2 separate regions of the Homo sapiens genome follow, and region 2 is linked to region 1. The links are contacts of gene promoters, found by promoter capture Hi-C in blood cells and fetal thymus (Javierre and others, 2016). All regions are on one chromosome and are shown on one strand. The core of a region is centred on a gene start or on the middle of the fragment in contact, and the rest is flanking DNA. Distances in the headings are between cores, read along the strand shown.

Region 1 (6,316 bases), core at 1,698-4,197:
GTTAGACAGTATAAGGTACTGGGATATGGTTTATGGAAAGGAGGAGGTAGGAAGGGAGGGTGGAAAAAAAAACAGAAGAAGATGGGCAAAAATGTAATCTTGTCCTCTATGTAAAGACATTAACCTTCTTGAATTGCTCTATTTAGTCAATACTTTTAAAAATAATTTTCTCAATATTCAAACATGCATCTGTTATTATTTTTTCACCTTTATATCATTAAGTTTTCTCATTCCTCTCATTTATTCATCCACCCAATACATAATGTTAGGCATAATTACAGCCTCTGGAATACATTGGTTAATAAGAGTTTATATCCTAGTTGGAGTAGATATCTAAGAAACAGGTTAAAAAAAAAAACCCAAAGTGTGTAATTTCCGATACTGGTAGATAAGATTAACAAATAAAAAGGGAAAGGGGTGAAGCCAGAAAGGCAGATAGGCTTAGTTCAGACAAGACCTTTGGTAAAGAGTTTGGGTTTTATTTTATTTGTAATGGGAGATCATTGGAAGATTTTAAGCAGGGGATGATAATGATCAGACTCATGTTTTAGAAGGGTGTTTCTGGCTGTGGTGTGTAGTATGGACTATAAGGGAAAAGGAGTTAAAGCTGGGAGACTAATTTGGAGCTTGTTGCAGGAATAAGGATGGCGGATGATAATGGCTTGGGCCAGGATGGTTGTAATGGCTAGAATTTAAATGTATTTTGGATATAGAGCCTCAAGGCTTACTGATGGAGTGAAAGAAGAATAAGCGTTTGCACAAAATGACAATAGGAATCAAACATGATGCGTAAGCATGGACTTGAACAATAGGATGGATAGAATTCTTTTGCAGAGGAATTTTAGTTGCTCCCTAATACGCAAGTAGTAATTTTTGTCTCCTATTTTCCAGCATATGTATGACGTGGTTACATGATGACAATCTCATGTTATTCAGGGAGAAATCCATGGATGACACCCACATTTTTATGCCCCCCAAAACCATATATACAATCACATATTTGTTATCTCTCCCTTGGATTTCTAAGAGACAATTTTTAAAATGAGACATCACTGCTGCCACCTTAGTCCAAGTCTTGAGCTAACGTAACAGCCTCCTAACTGGTCTATCTTGTCATCTTAAAATGTTCCTAGTCATTCTCCACATAATGGTCCAAGGGACCTTTTAAAATCACAACTTAATTTCCTGCCTAAAATCCTCCAATAGTTTCCCATTGTAATTTGAACAAAATCTGATCTTCTTGCCTGGACCTCTAAGATCCTACAAGATCTGGTCTGTCAGCTTTTCTGGCCTCATCAGCTACTCTTCTCTGGCCTCAGGCAGTTCCTGCCTTTCTTTCTGCTCCTTGAACTTGGGCAGCTCATTATTGCCTGAGGGTTTCTCTTCCTGCTGTTCCCTCTGCCTGAAATGCTCTTTCTCAAGATCTTCACGTAGTTAGTTCTATCTGATCATTCAGGTCTCTGGTCACATGTCCCTTCAGCAGAGCAGCTGTCCCTGACCACATTCTAAACAGGTACTCCCAAAGATACTCTCTACAGCACTACCCTGTTTTCGTTTCTTTCATAGTGCTTCTCTTTAACTGAAATTGTCTTATTTGTTTTCTTCTTCCTTGTCTTTTTCTTCTCTGGAATTCTCACCCTCGCATCCCTACTACCTAAAACAATATTGGTACATAGTAATCAGATTTTGTTGAACACATGAATTCTCATTTTGTGCAACATTTTGATAGGACAGATTGGACACAAGCCTAGTATGAAGCAGTGACGACACATGTCCCAACCAGTGACCAACACATCATGTGATAGCATTTCTAAATGAAAATTTAGAATCAGAAATATTAAAAGAACTGTTCTAGCACTTTGGGGAAAAGACACTAAGGAAGGCAGAACAAAAGACAGCATATACTGTATAAATACATGTGTGGCATAAAATATACCATCTATATTCAGCCTAGAACAGTGTTACGCCCTCAATAAATTTTTTGTTGAGTGGATATATGAATAATTAATGAAAAGTCTCCAAATGATTTGACCAAAGGTGATAGGGAAATGATTTAACCTTGACTAACTGGGATGTTTGTATTCTGAAACAGAAATTCTGCTGAGATGGGAAAAAGCAAAGTTGAATCGGAGCAGACCCATGTTAAACAGAACTACCTTTGGCACCATAACTATGAAAGCAGAGAGTGACCTCTCCTTCCGTCTTGTTAGGTATGGGGGAAGCCCCAGCACCTTTACGTCACGTGCTCAGTGAGAGGTGAACACCTCACTCCACTGTCTTAGGTGCTCCACTGGAAGAGTCAAGTAAGTCAGGCGACCACATAAATCTTATTCCCAATTACTCATATAACTAGTGAACATTCAACATGATACTTTGACGTTAGCTTCATGTTTCTTGACCCTTTTATTCTCATTAGACAGCATTAACTGAGTTATTAAACAAAGCGGAACAAATGTTTTTATTAAAATGAATATTGAGACTAATTCCTGTTCCTAAAAACATAGCCAATTTGGGGATAAAATCAAATTCAATTTGCATTATTTTTGCTTTTTAACAAATCCTAAACCAAAATGATGAGGGAAAACAGAAACCTTTGTATTTAATGGCTATAAAATACCTTTCCTGAAAAAGAACAGATTAAAACTCATACTATATTAAATCTATGAAAATAAAAATATTAAAAAAATAAACAAAATAGCTGTATTTAAATATCAGAGTTTTCACAAGAAAATTAACAATTTGCAGAAGTGACGAATAATAATCATTACGAGTAATAATAGTTAATATAATACCACCAACAATAGTAATCCATCTGAAAATTCTTACCAAGCCACCACCAATGACAGCTACTTTTTTCCTTTGAATGACAGATGAGTCCATAACTGCTGAAGTATTTTTCACAATTATTGTTGCTTCTGTCACTGAGTGACACTGATTTCTGTGTCTCCTACACACTGATTTCTCTGAGTTTTTATACTGCCCCAAGCCTAGTGCATTCATGAGCCAGCGGCAATGTTTAGTCAGGGCTAATTTCCCTTGACAGTATTAACCCATTAGTTGGCCAAAGTACAATCAGCTCAGCTCTAAGAAAAAATAAATCCATTACAATAACCAAATTTTTTAAAAAATCCATCCAATTGGAGACACTCTATTTTTTCTATCTTCTGTGTAAGACACAGAAATTTTTAAGCAGTCTTGTGGCTTTTCTTCTTCTTTTTCTACAGCATATATTCTTAGTTTCGTTTTCATTCATGATTAACCATGAATGGAGCCCTTCTCATCTGAAGTCCAAAAACATCTTATACCTCCCTTAGAGAGTAAGATGACATGGTTTCATAATTCATCTGTGGATCATTTTTGTGGTTAAGACCAATCAAAAATTTCATCTAAAGGGTCCTCATGGATTGTTTTTAACAGGCTCTACCAGGGAAAATTCTCTGCAAGGTCTTAATATTCTCCCGATCAACATTTTGAATTGTGTAACTGACCATACTTCCCCTTTTTTTTTTCAGCCCAGATGCTAGAAAATTTAGAATCTAATTTTAGAATCGAAAATTTAGAGTCTAATTACCACTAGGGGAGATGACTGACACAACGCTTCTGTAAACTCATTCCCGACTTCATATTATCTATTCACTTTTTTGTCTTTTTCACTCCGTTTTAAATGTTATACTTTTGTGCATGATTTGCGAATGGCAATTGTTTTCTGGAACATGATGTGGTGTAATGTAAAATAAGAACATAAATGAAGTTGTTTCTTCACTTCCTGTTAAGCACATAAAGAATTCAGAACGTTTTTTTCCCTGGTTAGGAACTAGAGTTAAATGGCATTCAATAGTGACCCCTTGTGGATAAGCATGATTAGGTATTTTATTTATTTTGAATAGGTAATACATTAACATGGCATGAAATTAAAGACACAAAAGAGTACACGGTGAATAGTAATCCTGCTAACCTTGACCCTTGGCCACCTATTCCTCCTGCCCAAAGACAACAACTGTTTTGGTGTGTGGGTTACCGTATTCTTCTACACGTTGATTATGTCTTTCTTGTTCTTCCTCTCTCTCCTTTTCTCTCTCTCTTTCTCTCACTCTCTCATTCCCTTCCTTCCTTTCTTTTTAAACATACATTTAAAAACTTTTTCCACATCATATTTCTCACTTTACAACATATAGCTTGAGAATTCTTCAATATCAATATGTAGAGAATATGTATCAATTCCTCAGTATCAATATGTATCATTGTTAAAAAATCTTTTAAAAATTATGAACTATAACACAAATGAACAGTATAATAAGTTACTGTAAAGCAAGTATCCATGTAACTACCATTTAGGTGCAGAGAGAGAATATTGCCAGAATCCCAGAAGTCTAACGTGCCCCCTGTTAATCACCCCTCCTTCGTAGAGGTAACTGCCATACCAACTTTCTTTGCTTTTATGTATAATTGTACCATGATAGATGCATCCCTAAAATAGTTTAGTGTTGACTTTTTTGAACTTTCCTATAAATGAACTTATACTGTTTATTTTTTTACAACTTGCTTCTTTTTCTCAATATTATATCTCTTAAGATCCATTTGTGTTGTTGCATGTTTTTCCAGTTCATTCATTTTTATCGTCATTTATTATTTGTCCATTGTGCTGTTGATGGACATTTGGGGTGTTTCCAAATTTTTAATATCATGAATAATGGTGTTGCCATAAACACTCTTGTGTATACAATGTCATGTACATATGTATGAGTATCTCTAGGTTTCATATGCTGTTTATGCTTTTTTGTTTGTTTTTTGTTTTTTGGGTTTTTTTGAGATGGAGTCTCACTCTGTCACCCAGGCTGGAGTGCAATGGTGCAATCTCGGCTCACTGCAACCTCTGCCTCCCAGGTTCAACTGATTCTCCTGCCTCAGCCTCCCGAGTAGCTGGGATTACAGGTGCCTGCTACCACGCCTAGCTAATTTTTGTATTTTTTCAGTAGAGATGGGGTTTCACCATGTTGACTAGGCTGGTCTTGAACTCGGCCTCAAGTGGTCCACCCGCCTCAGCCTCCCAAAGTGCTGGAATTACAGATGTGAGTGACTGCGCCCAGCCATGTTTATGCATATTTTTAACCTTTCTGAATAAACGAAAGTTACATTCCAAAGTAGTGCATTAGCTTTTACTTAACACAATGTGTAAAATTTGTCTTCTGCTGTATCCTCACCAATGTATGTATTGCCAAGAATTTTTAATTTTTGCCAGTCTGGTAGATGTGCTTTATATTTCAGTGTTCTTTTAATTTGCAGTCCTTTGATTATCAGTGAAGTTGAGCACATTTTTACCTGTTCATTCACAACTTCTTTTTCTTCTTCTGTATAGGTAGTGTTAATTTTTGGGGGGGGAGGGTGGGAATTTTTTTTTCCTTTTTTGAGTCCCATTGCATATGAACTTTAGTACTTAGATATGTCACAAATAACATTTCATTCACTCTGTGGCTTGCCTTTTTGCTTTCCTAGTGGTGTCTTTTGATGAAAGAATATTCTTCATTTAATACATTCTTTTCCCTTGTGGTTAGAGTTTTTCATGTCATGTTTTATCACTTTTTTTGTATAATCTTGAGGTCATGAGGATATTCTTCCATGTTGACTTCTAAAATAGTTATAATTTACCTTTCATTTTTAGGTCTATGATCAACATGGAGTTAGTTTTTTTGTTTTTGGAATGCTGTGATATAGATGTCAAAATTTTATTTGTTTTCCAAATGAATACCCAATATTCCCTGTACCAATAAATGAAAAGACTTTCCTTTTCCCGCATTGCCTTTGGTGTAGGTCCAGTGTTCATATATGTGTGGGTCTCGTTCCAGGTTTCTATTCTATTTCATTCCATATAGTCTATACTGCCCATACTATACCTACTAATGCCAGTTCCAAAGCCAAATTACAATAGCTTTAATACAATCCTTAATATCTTCATCAATTCACCCACCTTGTCCTTCATTAATAATGTATTGACTATTCTTGGTGCTTTGTATTTCCATCTGTTTTAGAATCAGCCTGTTAATTCCATTTTAAAAATCCCTAAAATAAAAATATGGTTGGGATTTTTGACTGGGATTGCTTCGAAGTTATACATCTATCTGGAAAGAATAACTATTTTGACTACTGCGTCTTTCCATTCAGAATATGATATGCCCCTCCCCACCATCTGTTTGTCATCTCCAAGGCTTACAAAGTTATATTCTTTCCCTGTAGAGGTTTGATCCCCTATTATTATGTTTAGGTAATTGATTTTTTAAATTTTATTGTAAATAATATCTTTCATTTCATTTTCTACTAT
Region 2 (6,328 bases), core at 1,203-3,702, 2.5 Mb before region 1:
CTCCAGTCCCCATATAAAAAAATTAATTCCGCTTTGGCCGCCGTGGTACATGTCCCTGAATTTTAATCAGGCTTATGACCCAAGCACCACCAAATCACACGGACAAGACCTAAATGCCAGAAGGAAAATGCACACTTTCTGAACTTCCTCACCCCCGCCAAAGAGCTTCCGACGCATCTCCATCTTCCTTGAACCCAAGTTCTAAAAGCCTTCCTTTAACTACAGTCTCTCACTAAGAATAAGAATTTAGATCTCTTCCAGAAGAAATTTAATTAACTCTACTTATCAAATTATGTCCCACAAAACCTACAAAATAGCTTTAATTTCAAAGGGAACAACTCATATAATAAACAAAGAAAAGTCCCAAACATATCCTGGAACATACAAGAAAACTTGTTCAACCATCCTTTTTATTACTTTTGCTACCTGACTGTGCTTAGAAAGCACAGTTTAAACACACACACACACATTTGGCTGAATCAAGAAAAAAAAATGAAATTGCATAATTAGTCCAGAAATTAGCAAACAACTTACTTTTAAAGTCAGGGTGTTACAACAAAAGCCCTGTGTATAAAAACAGATGTTAATGCCTTCAGATTTGCAGGTATAGCACACATGTACGAGATCAGAAGGAGCTGCACCAACAGATGGAAAAGATCATCTTTACTATGAACAAATCCAAAGATTTTTCAAAACGAACTGAGAAAAAAGTAGTTACATTTCTTTGTAGAAACTGTACTTTCAGAATATTAGGAACCAGAGGGGCTTTACTGAACTCCGAAAATTCTCATCTAAACTTTGATCCGTTGCAAGGCAAAATGAGTTTCATATTGAAATTAATTCAAACTTTTAAAAATAAAGGCATACAGCGCTTAAATAAAACTCAAAAGCTTTACAGGTTCAACGTTTTTTTTTAAGCCTTTTTAGAAAAAGAGAACCTTTTTTTTTTTCCTGGTTCTGCCTTACCTCAGCCAACAGAAAATACTTTGTTTCAATATAATTTGATATATTTCTGTTTTCCCACTAGCTTCTATTCTTGCAAATATTCATCATTGCCCTTGTTTTGTGATGAGGGAAAGTGAAATGGAGGGAGGAGAAAGGCAAAGATGTACAAAGGGTCAGAATTCAACTGCAGTGGGTAAACTCCTGAAAAATAAAGAAGACCCGACTTCCCCTTTCCTGTGACCAGAAGCAAGCCTCCACACCACCCATCTCAGCAAGTGCATTTTGGGAATAGATACACTTAATTTAATATTCAGAAATTACTTCCTTTCTTCTTGTTCTTCTACACTTTGCCCAAGACAGACTAAAACTTTATCCTAACCCCAGACACATTCTGCAAGATGCCACTGCTAGAATAAACTAAGATTTACAATACAATCACTTTAAGTGCCCCACAGCTAACATCAATCCTAATCCTTGAGAAGGCTAAAAATAAAGATTGGAGGGCAGCTCACAAGGTAGCCGTGATCAAATTAGGAGGCTGAGAGGACAGAGAGGGACGAAGAAGGAAGCTTATAAACATCTGATCCAGCTGACTGTGGCCATATGGCAGCTGCTGCCCAGATAAAGAGATTAAGAATAGAGGAGTGCGATTACAGCTGTCTGGCCAATTCAGGCAGCTCAAATCTACAAGTTCTAAATTAGTCGCTAACACAAAAACTCCTGCAAATAATTATTGTTATGCTGAAATAAAAGATCTCTTAAATATATATTTGAAAGAGAAATGAGGAAACCAGTCAAACTATTCTCCTGGGGACAAAAGTTTGGTTTTTTTTTCTTCTTCTTAAAAACCTGCAGTTTCAACAGCACTACAGCTGTATGTTTCAGTAGTGCTGCTCAATGTTTTGAAGAATAAAGTTTCACAGAGGAATTAATTATACAACAATCTAGCTGCTTAACTAGAATAATCTTCTCATATAAGTTTGAATGCTGGATTCCAGTTTACTATTTCCCCACCACCACCACCCCAATCAAATCTAAATAGCAGTGAACAACAAAAAAGCATTTTAATCCAACGTGATTTCCAAAAGCAGCATTTTAAAGCCTTTCTTAACATTTCAAAACTTGAAATATTTGTGTATTAAAGTTATTTACTCGCTCAAGTAAAAGGGATAAAAAATTAAAACTAAACAAGCTCAAGACTTTCAACTCCAGTAAGATGTTCATTTAATACTCAATTTCATATATTATTCCTAAACTGGGTTAGAAAAGTAATGTGATTTTTAAAATTAAATAAACAAAACACCAAAACAGAAATATGCTCAATCTAATCTCTTGCTACTCCTACCTTTAGGACACATAAACCTGATTAAGTCCTTTCCTCTGAGTCCTGCTGGCTCCAGGTCTGTTACATCGGTGGAAAAAAAGCAGACTAAGAGAGACAGATGCAAAGTGGAGATGATGTTAGAGAGGAATGAGATACCTTCTCCACCACAGATCCGCACACACTAACTCCCTGTCTGTGTGTTAGAATAAAAGGCTGAGGGATGGCAGGCTGTCAGCTGCTCTGACATCATGTTCAGATGGAAATGCTACCTCCAGCTGTGCTCCTTTTAATGCCATATGCTACTCCTCTACACTCCTGCCACCAGCTTTTTCTTAGGAGAACTTTTCTCTTCTGTTAGTATAAACAAAATACTTCAAAGTCTTCCTTTTTTTCCAAACTTTCTAACAGAAGAAATTGAAAAACTCAGCATATGGAGTTCTACTGTATTTATGGAATAGCAACACTTCTGTCTTAAGTTGGTGGACTGGCTTACATACTGACAGCACACTCAAGCCACGGTGCTATTCAGGAAATCCAGATTCACTTTTATTCAACTCCAACGTTTAGTTTCTAAAGCAGTTTAGGGATATTTTTAAACCAACCCATTTGACATCTCCAGTCCCATTTCAACATTATTACCGCACTTTTTTATTTTTTTCTGCTGAGATAATGGTATACATGTCTCAAATGTTGGCAGACTTGTTCAGAACTATTACTTCAGACTGGTTCACCTTATTATTTCACTCTTATGTAATTACTTATCTACAACTACCTTCTCAGAAAAATTTCTTACACTGCCACAGTCAATGCAAATTTCAATTCTCGGTACCAACAAGCTGAAACTGCACTTTCTGAAATCCTGGAAAGTACTTCAGTTCAACGAGACCAATTAATAAACTGATACAACCTGCTCCAGTCACTTAAAATGAATGCTGCACCTGCATATCTGATCTTTCTGCTCAGAAAAAGCAGAACCTTGCCTTCCCCTTGATCTGTGTCCCTTAACAATCTTTTTTTTCTTTGGGGGGGGGTCACTCTAATGTTTATGATCACAAGAAAATCTTTGTGTGGGGGGAAGCCAGGTCTAGTAAGTTTGAGAACTTTTCAGCCAGTTTGTGGGTCTTTTCTAATAGCTGATGAAACTGTAACGCGACCCGGGCTGGGCTGACCGGTACCGGGCAGGGTGCTGCGACATCTCTGAATGTCAAATACATCTCCTCAGACTCTTGGGAGGGCGAGGGGTAGAAAAGGAACTGGGGCCTGAGGCGCCAGCGTCCCAGCCCTGGTGATAACCACTTCGTTCCCATTAGAAAGCCGTGGCGGAGAGTTAAAGAGTAACAAAACCCGACGACTCCGTCCTGTCCTTCTCGCTTTCCCAAAGTCACAAACCTAACTTTCTCCAACTTCGCGGTGAGTGACATAATTATGAACACTTAGTCCAGGAGACATCCTCGGGAGATCAATTTCTTCCCAGCCACACCACCTATTCTCCACAAATGCCCTCGACCCATTCCAATATATCAGACATTAATCACCCCATTTACCCAGTGGGGTGGGGGGTGAGTGACAGTTTAATGAGTCCCGGGCACCGCAATGGGCCAGCAACTCCCACTCCACAAATCAACCCCTTCACGTCTCGCTACCGCGGATCCATAGAGGTTTTGTGAGGTTGGGGTTTTGTTTTTCAGAGAGGTGGGGGCGGGGGTGCCGAGTGGGGAAGCAATGCAAATCTTTACGTAGTTCGCCGTGCATAAAACACACGGGGAAAGAGGAAGGTTAAAACCACAGGGAAGGAGGTGGAGGGCGCAGAGCCGGTGCAGCAGGAAAACACCTTAAACAACAGAGGAGAAAACAGACCCGGGTCACGGCAACAACAAAAGAAAAGTCGTAAGAAGCAGCCAGCGGGAGGAGAGTGGTTGCTACCGCTTCCCCGATGCCGCGACGCGCGAGCCCCCGGGGCCTCCGGGCAACTGCACCAGCCCGGGAGGGCCCCCTCCCCCGCCGGCCCCCTCCCCCGGGCGCCACTGCAGCTGCACCGGTCCCCGGAGCCGCGGCCGTCCCGGGCGCCACTGCAGCTGCGGCTGCTCCCAAGCCCCCTCCCCCAGCCCGCCGCCCTCCGCACCCGAGAGGCGCCACCGCAGCTGCACCGGCCGGGAGCCCGCCCCGCGCCGCAGCTGCACCGGCCCGCGGGGGCGCGGCGCGGAGCCGGGAACCCGCACCCCGCCCGACCCCGCAGCTGCAGCGGCCCCGTCCCCGCGCCCGGGCCTCCCGCAGCTGCGCCGCCCCCCGCCGCCCCAACAGCTCCAACCACACAAACTAACTCCACTCGCGGGGGCGCCCCCGACCCGGCCCGCCCTCCGCCCGCGCCGCCCAGCCGGCCGGGGCCGCACAGCTGGCGCCCCCCGCCCGCCGGGGTGCCGGGGCGCGGAGGGGGCGCCAGGTCAGGGGCCAGGGGCCGGCGCCGGGACTCACACGGAGCGGCCCTAAGTCACCGCGTCCCCGCCGCCGCCGCGTCCTCCGCCTCCTCCTCCTCCTCCTCCCGGCCGCCGCCGCCGCCGCCGGACTTGGTGGGCTTCCTCCGGCTCTTGCCCCCCTCCCTCCCGGCCCCCCCACCCCCCAATCCCGGCTCCGTCGCCCGCTCCCCCCCGCCCCTCCCTCCCGCCCACCCCCGCTGGCAGCCGGAGGAGCGCGGCGGAGCGAAGAGGGCCCCACTCTCAACGGCTCCCCATGGCAGCAGCCCAGCGGCGGCCGCAGCCTGCCAGACACAGCGAGGGAGCGAGCGAGGGAGCGAGCGCGGAGCCGCCGGGCCGGGTGGGGGGGCGGGGGCGGGGGGGGGGCGGGCGCGGGGGAGGGGGAGGGGAGGGGGCGGGAGGACGCACCACGCACGCACGCGGCGGCGCCGGCCAGATGTTCCCCCCACCCTCAGTCCGCCCCTCTCCTTCCCCTGCCTCCCTCCCTCCGGGCGTTGGGCTTCTGCGATTGACCGAAAGCGGCTGGACCGGCGCTCCCCGCCCGCCCCCAGCCCTCAGACTCCTCCAATGGGAAGGCGGCTCTTCGGGAAGGCGGAGGGGGTGGTGGGCAGTCGTCGGACTGACAAGGGGGCCCAGCCAATGGGGGTGGCGAGCCGTAGCTGCCCTCCCGCGCGTTCCAATCGCAGGCAGCAACTGTTGGGGTGGGCGGGGCTCGGGCGGGCGGGGATCCGGAGCGAAGCGGCGCGGGGCGGAGTCCTCGGGCGCAGCGGCGGTGGCAGCAGCGGCGCCCCTCTGGGTGACTTGGCCGTGAGAAAGTGAAAGGAGCCCGCAGGCGGCGGCGACAGCTGCGCTGGGAGGGGCTTGTTTCCAGGCTCAGAGGCCCCGCGCACTCTGCGGGTGCGGAGCGAGCTTTTCGGTGTGCACTGTGACAACCACAAACACACTTTTGAACGTAGTGGGGCTTGGCTGCTGCGAGTTACGCAGGTATCCTGGAGAGGCAGGGCACCCGGGGACACGGATGACTCGAGGCCGACTTCGGGTGGCTCTCTCTGCTCCTTCCTGTGGGGGTGAAGACGCCCGGGTCCTCGCCGGCCCGTGCGCAGGGGAGCGGGACCGAGGAGCGCTCTCGCTCCGTCCTGCGGCGTCCCGCGCCCAGGTGCACATCGGGGAGCTGGGGACGCAGGCGACTCAGGCAGTTTCTGGGAGTCGTTCTTACGTCATCATGTCACGGGCAGAACAGGGCAGAGCGCCCGCCTTTCTCGCAAAACCCTCCTGTCCCTTGTGTACTTACACTGTTACAAGTAAAGACTTCCCCAAGTGACCAAATTTTAGAGCATTACAGTAAAATTGGTACTTGCAGATGCCTCAGCTTGATTCCTTAATTGATACGTATCTAGCCACAACTTTAAACTACCGAGGGACGATGTAAGACTGCTGTGTCGCTTTTCTTTCCTTCAAATAAACTTTTACTCGGTACCTGTTCTTGGCAATTAGACTGCGTTAATCACAGCCACAAAGACGTGGAAATGTCTGCCGTCAAGAAATTGGAAATCGTATCGAGGCAAGAATTACAAGTAAAAAGTTGAAT

The links. The method cuts DNA at HindIII sites, captures the fragments that hold promoters and counts their contacts. A CHiCAGO score of 5 or more calls a contact.
Region 2: a contact is called between the fragment with the promoter of ZBTB18 here and the fragment with the promoter of KMO in region 1, in 1 of 17 cell types (monocytes). The highest score is 8.6, in monocytes.

The regions. Positions count from the first base shown.
Region 1 is chr1:241,529,009-241,535,324 of GRCh38, reverse strand. It overlaps KMO (kynurenine 3-monooxygenase), which reads right to left and starts at 2,947. Exons shown (of 15, transcript NM_003679.5): 1 at 2,827-2,947. The coding sequence starts at 2,880. RefSeq lists an enhancer at 3,215-3,364. The HindIII fragment of the contact is 7,761 bases long and covers 1-6,316 here.
Region 2 is chr1:244,047,407-244,053,734 of GRCh38, reverse strand. It overlaps ZBTB18 (zinc finger and BTB domain containing 18), which reads right to left and starts at 2,452. Exons shown (of 2, transcript NM_205768.3): 1 at 2,291-2,452. The coding sequence starts at 2,303. LOC124904570 (a long non-coding RNA gene) reads left to right here and starts at 5,494. Exons shown (of 2, transcript XR_007066975.1): 1 at 5,494-5,724; 2 at 6,138-6,328. RefSeq lists enhancers at 1,176-1,677, 3,394-3,443, 5,654-5,813 and silencers at 3,124-3,213, 5,364-5,483. The HindIII fragment of the contact is 5,583 bases long and covers 1,517-6,328 here.